3 separate regions of the Homo sapiens genome follow, and regions 2 and 3 are each linked to region 1. The links are contacts of gene promoters, found by promoter capture Hi-C in human tissues and cell types (Jung and others, 2019). All regions are on one chromosome and are shown on one strand. The core of a region is centred on a gene start or on the middle of the fragment in contact, and the rest is flanking DNA. Distances in the headings are between cores, read along the strand shown. Region 1 holds the start of SGCZ (sarcoglycan zeta). Region 2 overlaps SGCZ (sarcoglycan zeta). Region 3 has its middle 30 kb from the start of TUSC3.

Evidence for each region. Contacts are between HindIII fragments. The study calls those that stand out against the background at their distance.
Region 2: a contact is called between a fragment that was not itself captured here and the fragment with the promoter of SGCZ in region 1, in 2 of the 25 tissues and cell types used here (dorsolateral prefrontal cortex and hippocampus).
Region 3: a fragment that was not itself captured here is called in contact with the fragment with the promoter of SGCZ in region 1 in 2 of the 25 tissues and cell types used here (dorsolateral prefrontal cortex and hippocampus).

Annotation. Positions count from the first base shown.
Region 1 is chr8:15,236,196-15,241,119 of GRCh38, forward strand. It overlaps SGCZ (sarcoglycan zeta), which reads right to left and starts at 2,236. Exons shown (of 8, transcript NM_139167.4): 1 at 1,390-2,236. The coding sequence starts at 1,428. The HindIII fragment of the contact is 17,338 bases long and covers 129-4,924 here.
Region 2 is chr8:14,906,306-14,911,229 of GRCh38, forward strand. The region is part of intron 1 of SGCZ (sarcoglycan zeta); the gene reads right to left. Among named protein-coding and RNA genes, the nearest start is that of MIR383, 55 kb to the left of the region's middle. The HindIII fragment of the contact is 6,182 bases long and covers 1-4,924 here.
Region 3 is chr8:15,507,798-15,512,721 of GRCh38, forward strand. It overlaps a transcript of TUSC3 not described here. Among named protein-coding and RNA genes, the nearest start is that of TUSC3, 30 kb to the right of the region's middle. The HindIII fragment of the contact is 6,907 bases long and covers 1-4,924 here.

The DNA of each region.
Region 1 (4,924 bases), core at 986-3,485:
AGTCAGTGGCAGGGCGATTCTGGCAGGCGCCACTGTTCTCTGTCCCTCCTTCCTTCCCCGTCTATGCAATCTGGGGCGCCTGGAGAACTGGGCTCCTGCGTGCCCCCTGGCCAGGGCACAGGACAGGCTGCAGACAGAGGCTTTGGAGCTCTGCAGGGGATTTTGCAGCCTGCCTAGCTTGTCGGATAAACCCATTTCCTTGACATTTCAGGGCAAACCTCTATTCGTCGTTTCTCCAGCGGGTGGGGGGGTGCCTAAACATTCTCACTGATCAAAGAAGCCAGAATCCATCTGAACCTCTGAAATAGTAGAACGTACCAAATGCCTAGGGGTAAAGAAGGGTGGAGGATTTCAATAAAAGAGGTGCTTCCAGTGTCGCCCCCTTTCCCGCTTTTTCGTTTACGGTGAGCGGGACATTTAAAGTATTTTGTGGTTTGTTGGTTTTTTAAAGTTTTTATTTATTGTGTGTATATAAATATATATATTTTTTTTTCTTGAAGGGAAGCAGGCAGAGGTGCCCATAGGCAGAGGGGCGCGTTGTCACCCCGGATGCTCCCTCCGGGCAGGCCCTCACGGCCAAGCAGGGGACCCCAGAGGGAGAGGGCGCGGCGCGGGGAACCCGCGGAGCGGCGGGGGGCTCCAGGCTGGTGGGAGACCGTGTGCGGCCGGAGCCTCCGCAGATGCCGCCCCTACCAGCCCGGCTCCCGCCTCCCCGCCCCCTGCCCGAGTCCCCGGACCTGCTCCCGCGCCTGGGGCTAGGGCAGGCTAGCCGTCCCCGGCAGCGGGGGTACCTCTCCAGCCCCTGCACTGCAACTGCGGGAGGAAACACTGCCCGCGGGCGGTGGGAGGGAAAAGGGGTCTCACGAAGTTCTGGGATAAAAACGGGCTGTCGTTGCAGATGCCTCTGTCACGCGAATCTCCGAGCGGAAATGCACTGTCCCCGTGCCGGGCTGGGGCACAGGCGGGATCGGAGCCGGGAAGAGGAGGCAAAGTGGCGGCGCAGCTCGGACAACTTTGCTGGGAAAGCAGGCGACAGCGGGCAGAGCTGGTGCCGCTGCCCCCCCCGGGGAGACGAGCCGGCAAGAGGCGCAGGGTCTGCACCCCAAATGCTGCCGTCACGGACCAGGAGGAGGACGGGGTGGCCGCTGGCGGGAGGAGCAGGCGGGGAGGGCGCCCAGCCCGGGAGTGCAGCCTGGCTCGGGAGAACCACCCTCCGTGTCCTCGGCCCCAGCAGGGGCGCCTGCGCCCGGGTGCGCGTCCCCCCAACGCCCCCTCGTCGTCCCGCGGGACCACCAACTACTCCGCGCCGCTGGAGGAGCCGCGGGAAGGAGAGGGGAGAGCAGGGAGCGCCGAGAAGCGGCCGCGAAGCCCGCCCGGACCCGCACGTACCTTGAGCTCCTCAATGTCCAGGTTCGTTGATCTGTCCATGGAGCGCAACTAAACGAAGTGGAGAGGAACCGGGCGAGTGGCACCCAAAAACAATCTAGTCTTTTAGTTTCCAGCTTAAACTCAGCTTTATCCTCCTCCAAGCCCCGGCAGCTCCTCTCAGTCTCATTCTCCGTGGTCACGCCGCCTCCACCGGGTTAAAAATAAGGAAAATAAATAAATAATAATGATAATTCACTTTATTTTACTTCCTCAAAGATTTAGTGACAGGTGATCTCTACCGCGGTGCAACACAGCTGAGTCGATTGAAACAGGGGCCAAAAGAAAAAAGGAAAAAAAAATCCACTCTATTTAAGATTATTTCTTCTTCTGCAATAAGCTTAGAACCCAGCGAATTGCTGCATCCCGAGAAAAAAAGCTGCTTCCCTGGTCAGCATCATGCGGCAAATTTCAAGCAAATGTGTTCAAACTGAAGAGAAGAGTGTATGATAAAAGGCTTCCTCCGTCAGGCTTACTCTGGTAGGTAATTTAGCTCCAGTCCCAGGCATTAGCAATGATCAGTTTCCCCGGCAAGATAACAGAATCCCCGAAGTCCTGCATAGACTTAAAAAATGTCTTGTAGCTGAGAGGTATTTTCTCAGTGGGGAAAAGAAGATAATCAAGTCAGAAGGGAACGTTCTCCTTTGAAGGTTATGCTAAAAGAGTTGAGGGAATAGGAGGTGGATCCAACGGAGAGAAAAAGAGGGAGAGAAAGAGAGAGGGAGAGAAAAATTTTCCTCCTGCTTCGCTGTTTTACTGGCCTTCACCACCAGGTGACTGACTTCGCTTCTCTCTTCCCACAGCCAACACTAAGGGGATTTCTCTCATCTGTCAAAAAGCAACATTTCCTCTCCAGACAAATACTATCGCTGGGTCTTAAAGCCTGCCCTGTGTCCGGAATCCACTAGGTGACAATCATTTTAATTCATTGCGTACATTGCTTCATCTTCCTGCAGATCTGGGAGGAACATGCTTGTGTGTATCACCCACATGTATTTAAATATACTCACTTCAGATCTCTGCTGCTTTCAGCATCAGATTTTTTAATTTAAAAAAGACTTTTATAGAAAGTGACAGATAAGAATATTAAAGGAAATTTCCTGGAACGATGCTTCTTATGATAAAGCAGTCTTTTATTAGAAAATTGTTCTTTACATAGATTCTGACAGGTCAGTGCATTTAACTTGTAGGTTGTAGATTTGGGGAAAGGGCTCGTTTTCTTCATTTAAATGTCTCAGTGTAAAACTTGACTTTTGAAGCGTTTTAAAGACTCTTGTTTTATTATGACACATAAACTATTGAGACTTAAAGATGTTTACAGATTTGGAAACAGAGCTGTATAAATACTTTTGTTTCAAAAAAAAAGTGTTTCTTTTTTTAGGATTTAATATGCACATTCCAGTCTCATGGTCTCTCTCTAACATCATCTCCGTCCTCTGCCTCCCTGAATTCCAGCCACCTAGTCTATTGGTCCACCTGCCAGTACTGGCTCTTTAATTCCCATTCTTGCCCCCTCGTTAAGGACAGCTGTCTCTCCCCCTAGTTCTTTATAGTTTTAACACTTCTGCTTCTGACTAAAGTCACCTGAGCAGAGAAAAATTTTTCTCAGGTGAGTCTGTCAGATATTCTCCTTTATCCTCTTGTCGTAGCAGCATTCTTAATTTACCATTATTTAATGTATGCTGTTATTATCCGTTTGTTTGTTTGACTCCTCCAATAGACTATAAACTCTTGAAGGCATGTTCTGGACGGTTCTTATTCACCAAATGTCCCAAGAGCCAAGCAGCTAATAAGCACACAAATGTGCATGGAACAGATAAATGTGTGGAAAGAAACCTTTACAGTTAATATTCTAATGTCTGAAACCCTGATGACTCCCCTCCTCCCCTCACCGGCACCAATGGAGCACATCCCAGTTTTTCTCCTTCTACTTTGCAGCTAAGCCTGGAGGGCTCAGCTTTCTCATGGAGGATGTCCATTTCATTAGTTTAAGCCTAGTCTATTCCATGCACTTGCCTAAGCTATCTTTCTTTCAAACTTTGACTTCTGACTACAGCTTTTAAGATTAACATCAAGTAGCCAAAAGTCCATAATGAGTAGGGCCAAACATCAGATTCTCAAAATAAACTTCATGTGCTTATAAGACATAATTATTTTGCATAATATATGATGAAAAATAATAAAGGTTCAGGCTGAGAGTAGATGAACTTATATAAGACTTTTAACTCTAAAAAAGAGCTTCTCTTCTAGAAAGTATCAACAATTCAACATGAACAAAGATAACTACTAGGATGATGCAAAAGTAATGGCAGTTTTTGCCACTGAAAGTAATGGCAGAAAACACAATAACTTTTGCACCAACCTAATACATAGGCTTTTGAAAGTCAAGTCTTTCCATATGAAAGAATTTGAAATTCCCTGTCAACTAGTCATTGCCTAACTTTAGAAAATTGAATAAAACAAGCAAATTTATTTTGAACATATTAGCAAACTGATATTATTTAAGGTAAGTTTTCAATTTGCAGTTGTGAAAATGTAGTTCAAGGAAGGTATCCATAGAAAAATGTTGATGTTTAAATATTATTCACAAAGGGAAAACTGCAGTTTCTTAATATGACATATTATAGTTGAAAGAAAAAATGATATTGTTCTTAATTTTATGTGTGTGTATATATATATATATATATAGACTCTAATTTATCTGTAGTGAATTTTAAAATATGAAATTATATCCAACATTTGATGTTGACCAGACTGGCATTATAAGCCAGTGGTCCCCAAATGATATGGCTTCTGGGTCCCCATAGAAATCTCATCTTGAATTTTCCCTCCCATAATTCCCACATGTTGTGGGAGGGAACTAGTGGGAGATAACTGAATCGTGGGGGTGGTTTCCCCCATGCCCTTCTCATGGTAGTGAATCAGTCTCGCGAGATCTGGCGGTTTTATAAGGGGAAACCCCTTTTGCTTGGTTCCCACTCTCTCTCACCGCCTCCAGGTGAGAAGTGCGTTTCGCCTCCCGCCATGATTGTGAGGTCTCCCCAGCCACGCAGAACCGTGAGTCCATTAAACCTCTTTTTCTTTATAAATTACCCATTATCGGTTATGTCTTTATCATCAGTGTAAAAACGAACTAATACACCAACATTTTTGGCATCAGGGACCAGTTTCATGGAAGACAGTTTTTCCACAGATGCATGGCACAGGATACAGGGGAAGGTTTTGGAATGAGACTGTTCCACCTCTGATCATCAGGCATTAGTTAAATTGTCATAAGGAGTGCACAGCCTAGATCTCTGGCGTGCACAGTTCATAATAGGGGGGTGCTCCCATGAGAATCTAATGCCCCCACTAATCTGACAGCAGGCAGAGCTCAGGTGGTACTGAGTGCTAACCCACCCACCACTCCCCTCCTGCTGTGTGGCCTAGTTCGTAACAGGTCACAGATGGTCAGGGGCTTAGGAGACCTCTGACATAAGCGATAGAAACAATTAGTGAT
Region 2 (4,924 bases), core at 1,184-3,683, 330 kb before region 1:
TTTAGAAATGTTACTTCTTGAATACTCTTAAAAAGAGATTATGTTTAAACCAATACCTGCAAAGCTTACAAAAGAGTAAAAGTCCAGGAAGACACCAGGTATATTCTGAACCAATGGCTCTTAAACCACGCTCTGGAAAATTCTCAACTTCTGTAGTGATATGGCAGGTTACCCACAATTAAAATTATTGTTTTATATATTTTTTCTTTTCTACAAAGCAAACGTAAACTGCTGCCACTTACAATTTAATTTAAACAGATATTTGGCTTCTAAGATGTTTGAAACATCATTCTAGAAAAGAACAAATCACTTTGGTATTTGTACTAAATCCATATTATACTTACCCCTCACCAGTACTGAAATCAACTAACTAGGATTTACAAGAATGAAGATCAAACAACAGAACTTGGCGTGAGGCACACACAGTTCTGAGAAATCAACTGGAGACCAACAATGAGATGCTTACAGTCCTGATTAGCTCTAGAAAAGAGCTAGAGCTAGAAAAAGAACTGGGTTCTTATGAGAGAAATCATTTCTTTCTAAGGAGTATATATCACAGATAGAGTTACATAGTTAATAAATTAGACAATGGCATTGTTATGGAGTCAAAGTATTTTCAAATACATATACTTTAAAAAAGGTGATATTTCTGCCACTGTCAGAGAATTTATAACAATTCAATAACCTTAAATCATATCCCATAAACAACTCAAAATGTTACCATAAAACTTTTATTTTTGTTCTCCCTGAAAGCATGGTGCTAGTTTTATGCATGTCACTGGGTCACTGAAATGTAAATAATTTGCCTATAAACTGATAATTTAGTTTATCCAGGCACCTCTGTGATACAGTCTACTATTTTTTCAATGGGTTTCATATGTTTTACAGTTACCCATTATTATTTTTTGGGACAGAGTCTTGCTCTGTCACTCAGGATGAAGTAGAATGGCGTAATCATGGCTCACCGCAGCCTTGTACTTATGGCCTCAAGGGATCCTCTCACCTCAGCCTCATGAGTAGCTGGGACTACAGGCACACCACTATGCCTGGATAATTTTTATTTTTTGAGATGATGTCTCACTATCTTGCCGAGGTTAGTCTCCAACTCCTGGGCTCAAGTGATCCTCCTGCCTCAGCCTCTCAAAGTGCTAGAATTGCAGGCATAAGCCACTGCTCCCAGCCTCAGTTAACTATTAAGAAGTGCCGCTTCAACTATTGGAGGAGCTAAATGCCTCCAATAACTAACTATTCTTAATAAAGAATAAAGGCTGGACAACAGTGATCCCAGCACTTTGGGAAGCCAAGGTAGGAGTGTTGCTTGAGGCCAGAAGTTCAAGTCCAATCTGGGCAACATAGTAAGACCCTGACTCAAAAAATAAAATAAAGAATAAAAATTGAGTGCGTCCATTAGGGTTGTCTTCCCTCTCTCTCTACACTACAACCTATATAAGCTACATGCACAGAAATGAGCCACAATTCACTAACTTTTCTGCAAAGAAGCGCTAATTCCACCTATTTCAACCCTACTATTAAAACATACCAAGTACATCCAAAATAATATTTAGGATGTATACAACCAAGAACAAATAACCATTTGAGGAGAAAGAATAGTTATTAATAGTACAGTATAATTAACTAATGCATTTTAGAAAGGGCAGTCTGAACAAGGAAAAATTACATATTAGGTTGAATCATGTGAAATTGGTATGCTTTTTCTTTTCTTTTTGGTCAGAAACAGATACATAGAAACCACTGAAAATAAAAATTTCTGGTTTTGTTACTTATGTAGCATATCTAAAGTCAGGGCAAAAAAGGTAGTTAATAGAACCTTTTCTGTCTCTTTGATGAGTTGATGGGAATAATTTGTGACAATTATATAATATTTTTAGGCATTATGGCAAATTTCTCTAAATCATTTTTATCTAAATTACCTCAATTGGTCCGCAAAATGTTCAGTAAACTTGGAGACACAGGTATGGTCCTTGTTTTGAAAATGAGGGGAAAAAGTTCAATTATTCAACAAATATTTACCTAGTGGCCATTGTATAGCAGACACTAGGCACATGGCAGAGTCTCCATGAGACTGTATTCTACCAAGGGGTATAATAAACAAAGAAATAGATAAATGGGCAAGTTACAGATTTTTGTTAAGATTCAGAGAACTGGCCAGGTGCACTGGCTCACGCCTGTAATCCCAGCAGTTTGGGAGCCCCAGGTGGGAGGATCACGAGATCAGCAGTTCGAGACCAGCCTGACCAACATGGTGAAACCCCATTTCTACTAAATACACAAAAATTAGCCGGGCGTGGTGACAGGCACCTGTAATCCCAGCTACTCAGGAGGCTGAGGCAGGAGAATCGCTGGAACCTGGGAGGCGGAGCTTGCAGTGAGCCGAGATCGGGCCACTGTACTCCAGCCTGGTGATCTGTCACCGTTGCAAAAAAAAAAAAAAAAAAAAGAGAGAGAGATTCAGAGAACCTAATTCACTATAAAAAATATTAATATGTCAGAGATACAAAGTTTCTGATATTCTGAATTCCTAGAATTCTTACTGCATTTATATGCGACGAATAGTTTGTTATTTAATTTCAAAGTGCATTGTATTAGGTTCACCAAATGTTTTTCTTGCAGATTAAACTTATCTCTATAATTATGCCTATGTATTTTATGTCATTATTTCTCTCCTAACACCTGGGACAATGCTTGACATAAAATCGGGACTCTAATGATGAGTCAATTTTTCCAAAATTATTAAGCAGAGGTTTGCAAATCATGTGCATCAAGTTGATTAAGTATCTCATCTAGTTTACACTATTAATCCATTCAGTTAATCATTTTACTTTAACATCCAGCCCACTCCTTATATCAATTACTATAATTTTCAATTAGCAGAGACCAAATTAAAGGAGGCTTGTTACATGCATTCACCTGTCCTCAAATTATGACTTGTTAGATTGTGAAGCTATCGAAAAATCCTCTAAATCCAGTTGTCTACCTGGCCAAATACATCCCTTTTAAATAATTCCTTTTTTGAAGTGTTTACATATTTTTCTTGGTGTGAACTTCACTGTCTTTAATTAATTTCGTGTTTTAACGTTACAACGTATTTCTCTTACTGAATAGAATTCTGCCTTTTTATATAAATTTTGTTTCTTTTTCTTTTAAAATCTTAAGAGGTTATCTTAAATTATCTGTGTCTGATTTATCTGTGCTAACCATTCCCAAGTCTTATATTACGTCATACTATTTTTTAGTAAATTTTATAAATCAATATGATTTGTTAGGCTTTCAATAAGTTTAACATAAATATTTAAGTCTTTTAGTAAATAATATGTCAAATTTTTAGTTTGGAAATATGGGAATTTTAATTATAAGGCATAGTTCTAACCAATAACTCAGCCTGGTTTGCATCAACACCAATTTGGAGATGTTTATTCAGCTATTTAAAATTTATTATACCTCATTCTCTTCAAAGCACTCTGGTTTGTCCATCTACTAGTTAAAAGTGTCCCTCAATTCTGTCATCCAGAAACCAACAACTCTCCATGGTGTTCTTTGACCAGTGTAGCTATATAGTGGAAACTCATATTTTGCACAGCATATTTCTATGCTTAGCCAAAAACTGTACTATATTTTAACCATTTAACTCTATCATCCCATAAGAGAACTTTTCAGTTAATCTCTCCATTTTTAATGCATTGGCCTCTATCTAGCCACTTATGTCCCCCACCCTGTGCTTTAATAAGAAGCTGTCTTATCTAAATATAAAACTGTAAGTTTATCATAATTACATTTCACCTTATTTGAGATGTTGCATTCTATAAAACTTATGACCCTATTTAGTCTTCAAAGGCTTGTACCATCTTCAAAACCAGTAACATATCTTCCATCTACTCATTTAATCATTTGTTAAATTTGATAAGGATAATTCCCAGTTGGTTAAAACAGTATTTCTCTAATTTATAATGATTTTCACCAATACACATTGATATATATTTAGTCAGTTAATTAAAATTTATTAAACATCTCTCACAGTACCATTTAATACATAAGGACACCAGGAAACAACTTAAAAATGGCTTAACTCAGTGTTTGTAGCATTTACCTAAAACTTATTTTTAGTAAATTTGAAATCTTACTAAATTTATTAAATCTTAAATTTAGTAAATCTTGAAATCTGTTTTTTTTAAATGTACATAAACATTTGTTAAAAACATTCCCAAAATTCTGGCTGGTATTGATAAACCATTTTTCTTAACATTAATATTTTCTTAATATTTGAATCTAGAATTCTAGTTCATTTTTTGGGTATACACTGATATTTTATGATGGACATTAACAGAAAACATCGGTAAAGTAAAAATAAAATGAGCTATTGATTCTTTTAAAGCACTTTGCCCAAAATTTCTTCAAATTTATATATTTTTATTATACCTATTATGAAAATAGGAAGACAATGATGTCATTTTATGCCTCATAATACATTTAAGAAATTATTCAGCTTGGCTTATATTGTACATTCATATTCTTATTAAAAACCAGATGGCTTTTTCAGAAGCAAAAGTTGAATACATCCTAGAAGATATATAAGCTTAATCAGTGACCTTAAAGTAGATATACTAACAAACATATTCTACAATCTATTCCCCAGAACAATTATCACACTTCTAACAATCATATCACTCATTTTTTCACGAATAATACACATCCTTACTTTGAGTATAATGTCATATATTAAAGGGATGCTTCTGCATATGTGCTTTACTATTTTTATAAACTGTCTTCATGAGAAAAGAAGCATTTTGACTCCTCTGACACATCTCAGGTTTAGTTTTCACCTTTTAAGAGAAAACAGAGTAAGCAGATAATGGCTGTGGCAGGGCTGTAATTCAAATTGTCAAAGTAATCACCATGGTGTCCACAT
Region 3 (4,924 bases), core at 1,423-3,922, 270 kb after region 1:
AAAAACTATAGTTAAATAAAAAAAAGGCAAAGTGAACAAAAAAAGATTAATGGCCTCCCCAAGAGGTACAGTCAGATGGAAAGGAGTGAAGGTGGGCACATTTAAATAGAGGAGGTAAAACTTGAGCCAAAATAACGAAAGATGAGTCAAAACTTGCTCTGAGGCCAGATGCAGTAGCTCAGGCCTGTAATCCCAGCACTTTGGGAGGCCGAAGTGGGTGGATCACTTGAAGCCAGGAGTTCACGGCCAGCCTGGTCAACATGGGGAAACCCGTCTCTACTAAAAATACAAAAATTAGCCAGGTGTGGTGGTGTGCCTATAGTCCCAGCTACTCAGGAACGTGAGGCAGGAGAATCTGCATGAATCCGGGAGGCAGAGGTTGCAGTGAGCCGATTTCACGCCACTGCATTCTGGCCTGGGTGATAGGGTGGGACTCTGTCTAACAACAATGACAACAAAAACAAAAAACAAAACAAAACCTTGCTCTGGACAAATTATGGGTAATAAAAAATTTTGTTGGATGTGATATCCTATTAACTGAGGTGAAGAACAAGAGAAATGAATGACAAGATCTCAGGGAGGGAGAAAGGACATTGGATTTAGAGAGATTATAGATAAATGTCTAGGTAACTTTGAGGTAGTTTAGGAATCGAAGCTTCCTTTTTTTTTTTTTTTTTTTTTTTGAGAAGGAGTCTCTCTTGTTGCCCAGGCTGGAGTGCAGTGGCGCCATCTCGGCTCAGTGCAAGCTCCGCCTCCCGGGTTCGTGCCATTCTCCTGCCTCAGCCTCCCGAGTAGCTGGGACTACAGGCGCCTGCCACCATGCCCGGCTAATTTTTTGTATTTTTAGTAGAGACCAGGTTTCACCGTGTTAGCCAGGATGGTCTCAGTCTCCTGACCTTGTGATTCACCCGCCTGGGCGTCCCAAAGTGCTGGGATTACAGGCGTAAGCCACCGCACCTGTCCTGAAGCTTCCTTTTTAAGTGGAATAGGAAAAAAAGTAGGCATTAATAAAGATAACAAAAACCAAAGTGTATTGAGCTTACTCTGCTACTCACTCTGTCAACAGCTTGTAATATATTACCTTAATTCTTCCATGTAGGGTTGGCATTATTACTGTCTCCAGTTTACCAAATAGGAATTTGAAAGTTTAGAAAGTTATATAACTGTCTCAGGTTCCAGAAGTTGCGCCTGGTAGAGTTATAATTCAAGATAAGATCTTCAGCTCAGAATGAGAGGGAAGTGTTGAAGGGTGTGAATGAACTGCTTTGAGGAATGAGAGAAGAAGCTGAGGGGGAGAGAGAAAAAAGAATAGCTGAGGAACAGTAAGGACCCAAGTAAGGATGCAGTCTTTTGCTCTGCTAAGAATCCACATTGTTTTCCAACAACAGAGTACAGAAGAGCAAATATTGGAGATGATAGTCTTTTCTTCTTTCTTGATGCTCTTGTCAATAAATTAAACCACAGCCATCTAAGTTAGTTTCCTTAACTTTTTTAACTGAATGCTACGTGAAATTCAAAATCATAATAAAGGCCAGACGTGATGGCTCATGCCTGTAATCCGAACGCTTTGGGAGGCCAAGGCAGGCAAATTGCTTGAGGTCAAGTGTTCGAAACCAGCCTGGCCAACATGGTGACATCCCATCTCTACTAAAATATAAAAATTAGCTAGGTGAGGTGGCAGGCGCCTGTAATCCCAGCTACTCGGGAGGCTGAGGCAGGAGAGTCACTTGAATCCCAGAGGCTGAGGTTGCAGTGAGCCGAGATTGTGCCACTGCACTCAAACCTGGGAGACAGAGTGAGACACCATCTCAAAAAAAAAAATCATAATAAAATAGCACAGAAACATTGGATTAAGTATTAGCGTGACAAATTTGTAGTCTTAACTGTAGCTTTGTACTTCTTAATATTTTGGACTTTACCTATTCATCTCTAAATGCAGATGATTTTGAAGCTCATATTACATCCCTATCCATTAACTGGCCTAATACAATAATCTGTAAGTGAGATGAATGTGAATCTATGAGGAGACTGTTTTCTTGCATATTAGTTGACCAAAATATGTATTTTTGAAATTTTAATAAGTTATTTCCCCAGTTATCTAATGCTTACCAGGAGAATCCAGAAAGCTTTGGTTGGCCTAGGCAGGAGTATTGCTTGGGGCCAAGAGTTTGAGAGCAGCCTGAGCCACATAGCAAGACCTCATCTCTACAAAAAATAAAAAGAAAAATAGCGAGCCATGGAGGTGCACAACTGTAGTCCTAGCTCCCTGGGAGGCTGAGGGGGAAGAATTGTTTGAGCCCAAGAGTTCAAGGTTACAGTGAGCTATGATCACACCACTGAAGAAAGATCTAAAATCAGTGCCTTTAGATTAATACATTTGCAAATCTTGAAAATGAAAAGCAAATTAAAGCCAAAAGAAGGAGAAAAATAGATACAATCAAAGTGGAAACCAATGCAATAGAAAACCTAAAAGAAAAAAGGGAAAAAGAAAAGAATTGGTAAAACCAGAAGCTGGTTCTTTATGAGATCAATACAATTGATAAAGTTCTAAAAAGACTGATCAGGGAAAGAAGAGAGGGTACAATTACCAATATCAGACATGAGAGCAATGACATCACTACAGAAATTACAGGTGCTAAAGTGATAATGAGGAAATATTATATATAAATGCATGCAGTAAATTCACAACTTATGTGAAATACACAAATACATAAAAGATAATTACGGGAGCTCACCCAGGAAGAATCAGACAACCCCAACACTATATATATTTTTTTAAATATCAGTTTGTAGTTAAAAACCTTCCCACACAGAAAACTCCAGGCCCAGATGGCTCTCTTGATAAATCTGATCAAACATTTGAGGAGGAGATGACACCAATTTTACACAAACTGTTCCTGAAAATTTAAGAGCGGGGAATGCTTTCTTATTCCATGAAGTCAGTGTTACTCTCATTACAAAACCAAGATACTATTTAAAAAAAAACAGAAAGACAAATATCCCTCATGACTATGGACACAAACATTCGAAACAAAATGTTAGCAAATTTAATTTAACAGTGTATGGAATCACTTTAAAATTGGCAGAGGGCTCATGTGTAGAATGCAAGATTGGTTTACTTGTTGAAAAATCAGTGAATGCCATTTACCTTATTAGCAAACTAAAAAGGAAAACCATTTATTGATTTCCATACAAGCAGAAAAATGTTTTGGAAAATTCAAGATCCACTGCGGATAAAACATTTGGCAAGCTAGGAATAGAAGATAACGTCCTCTACCCGATAAAGGACACCCCCCAAAAAACAAAACCCAAAACTTAAAACTAATACCAAACTTAATGGTGAAAACATGAATGCTTTCTCCCATAAGTTCAAATACAGGTCAAGAAGGTTCACTCTTACTACTCCTATTCAGTATAGTGCTGGAATGAATTTCTCTCCAGTAGAAGGAGGGAGGAAGGGAAGAAAGGAAGGAGGAAGGAAGGGAGGGAGGGAGGTGAGGAAAGGAAATCCAGATTGGAATAGAAGAAAGAGAAAGCAAAACTGTAGTTTTGGTAGATGATATGATTATGCATATAAATAGAAAATGTGATGGAATATACAAAATAGTTACTAGAAATATGTGAATTTAGCAAGGTTGAAGAACTCAAAGTCAATATACAAAAATGTATTGTATTTCTCTATATTAGCAATGAACAGTCAGAACCTTAAATTTTAAACACAATACCACCAATTATAATAGCACCAAAAATACTAAATACAGATAAATTTGATAAAAGGTGTATAAGAAAGGACTGGGTGCAGTAGCTCACGCCTGTAATTCCAGCACTTTGGGAGGCCAAGATGGGCAGATCACTTGAGGTCAGGAGTTTGAGAGCAGCCTGGCCAATATGGTAAAACCCCAACTCTTCTAAAAATAAAAGAATTAGCCGGGCGTGGTGGTGGGTGCCTATAATCCCAGATACTTGGGAGGCTGAGGAAGGAAGAACTGATTGAACCTGGGAGGCGAACATTGCAGTGAGCCAAGATTGCGCCACTGTACTCCAGCCTGGGCGACAGAGCAAGACAGTCTCAAAAAAAAAAGAAGTACTAAATGAATGGAGCATGGATCAGTAGACTCAATATTACAAAGATATCAATTGATCCTAAATTTATCTATAGATTCAATACAATCCCCATCCAAGTTCCAGTAAGCGTGTTTAGAAATTGACAAGCTGATTCTAAAGTTCATATGGAAATGCAAAGAACCTAGAAGATCCAGAACACCTTTGAAAAAGAGGAACAATGTTGGAAGACTTGTACTACGTAATTTCAAAACTTACTATAAAGCTATAATAATTGAAACTGTGATATTTGTAAAAAGTTAGAGAAATAGATTAATGAAACAGGAGAGCGATACTCTAGATATTTCTGTGAATGTGTTTTTTAGATGAGATTAACAATTAAATTGGTGGACTTTGAGTAAAGCAGGTTACTCACCATAACGAGGGTGGGCCTCACCCATTCCATTGAAGGTTTTAACAGAAGAAAAACTGACCTCCCCTGAACAAGAAGGAATTCTGCCAGCTGACTGCCTTTGGGCCAGAACTGCACCTCTTCCTGAGTCTCCTGTCTGCTAGTCTACTCCATCAGATTTTGGACTGCCCAACCCTCCACAAACATGTGAACTAATTCTTTAACAATAAATGTTTCTCTGGCTGGGCACGGTGGCTCACACCTGTAATCCCAGCACTTTGGGAAGCTGAGGTGGGCAGATCACTTGAGGTCAGCAGTTTGAGACCAGCCTGGGCAACATGGGAAAACCCCGTCTCTACTAAAAATACAAAAATTAGCTTGGCATGGTGGTACACACCTATAATTCCAGCTAGATGGGAGGCTGAGGCAGGAGAGTTGCTTGAACCCGGGAGGGAGAGGTTGCAGTGAGCT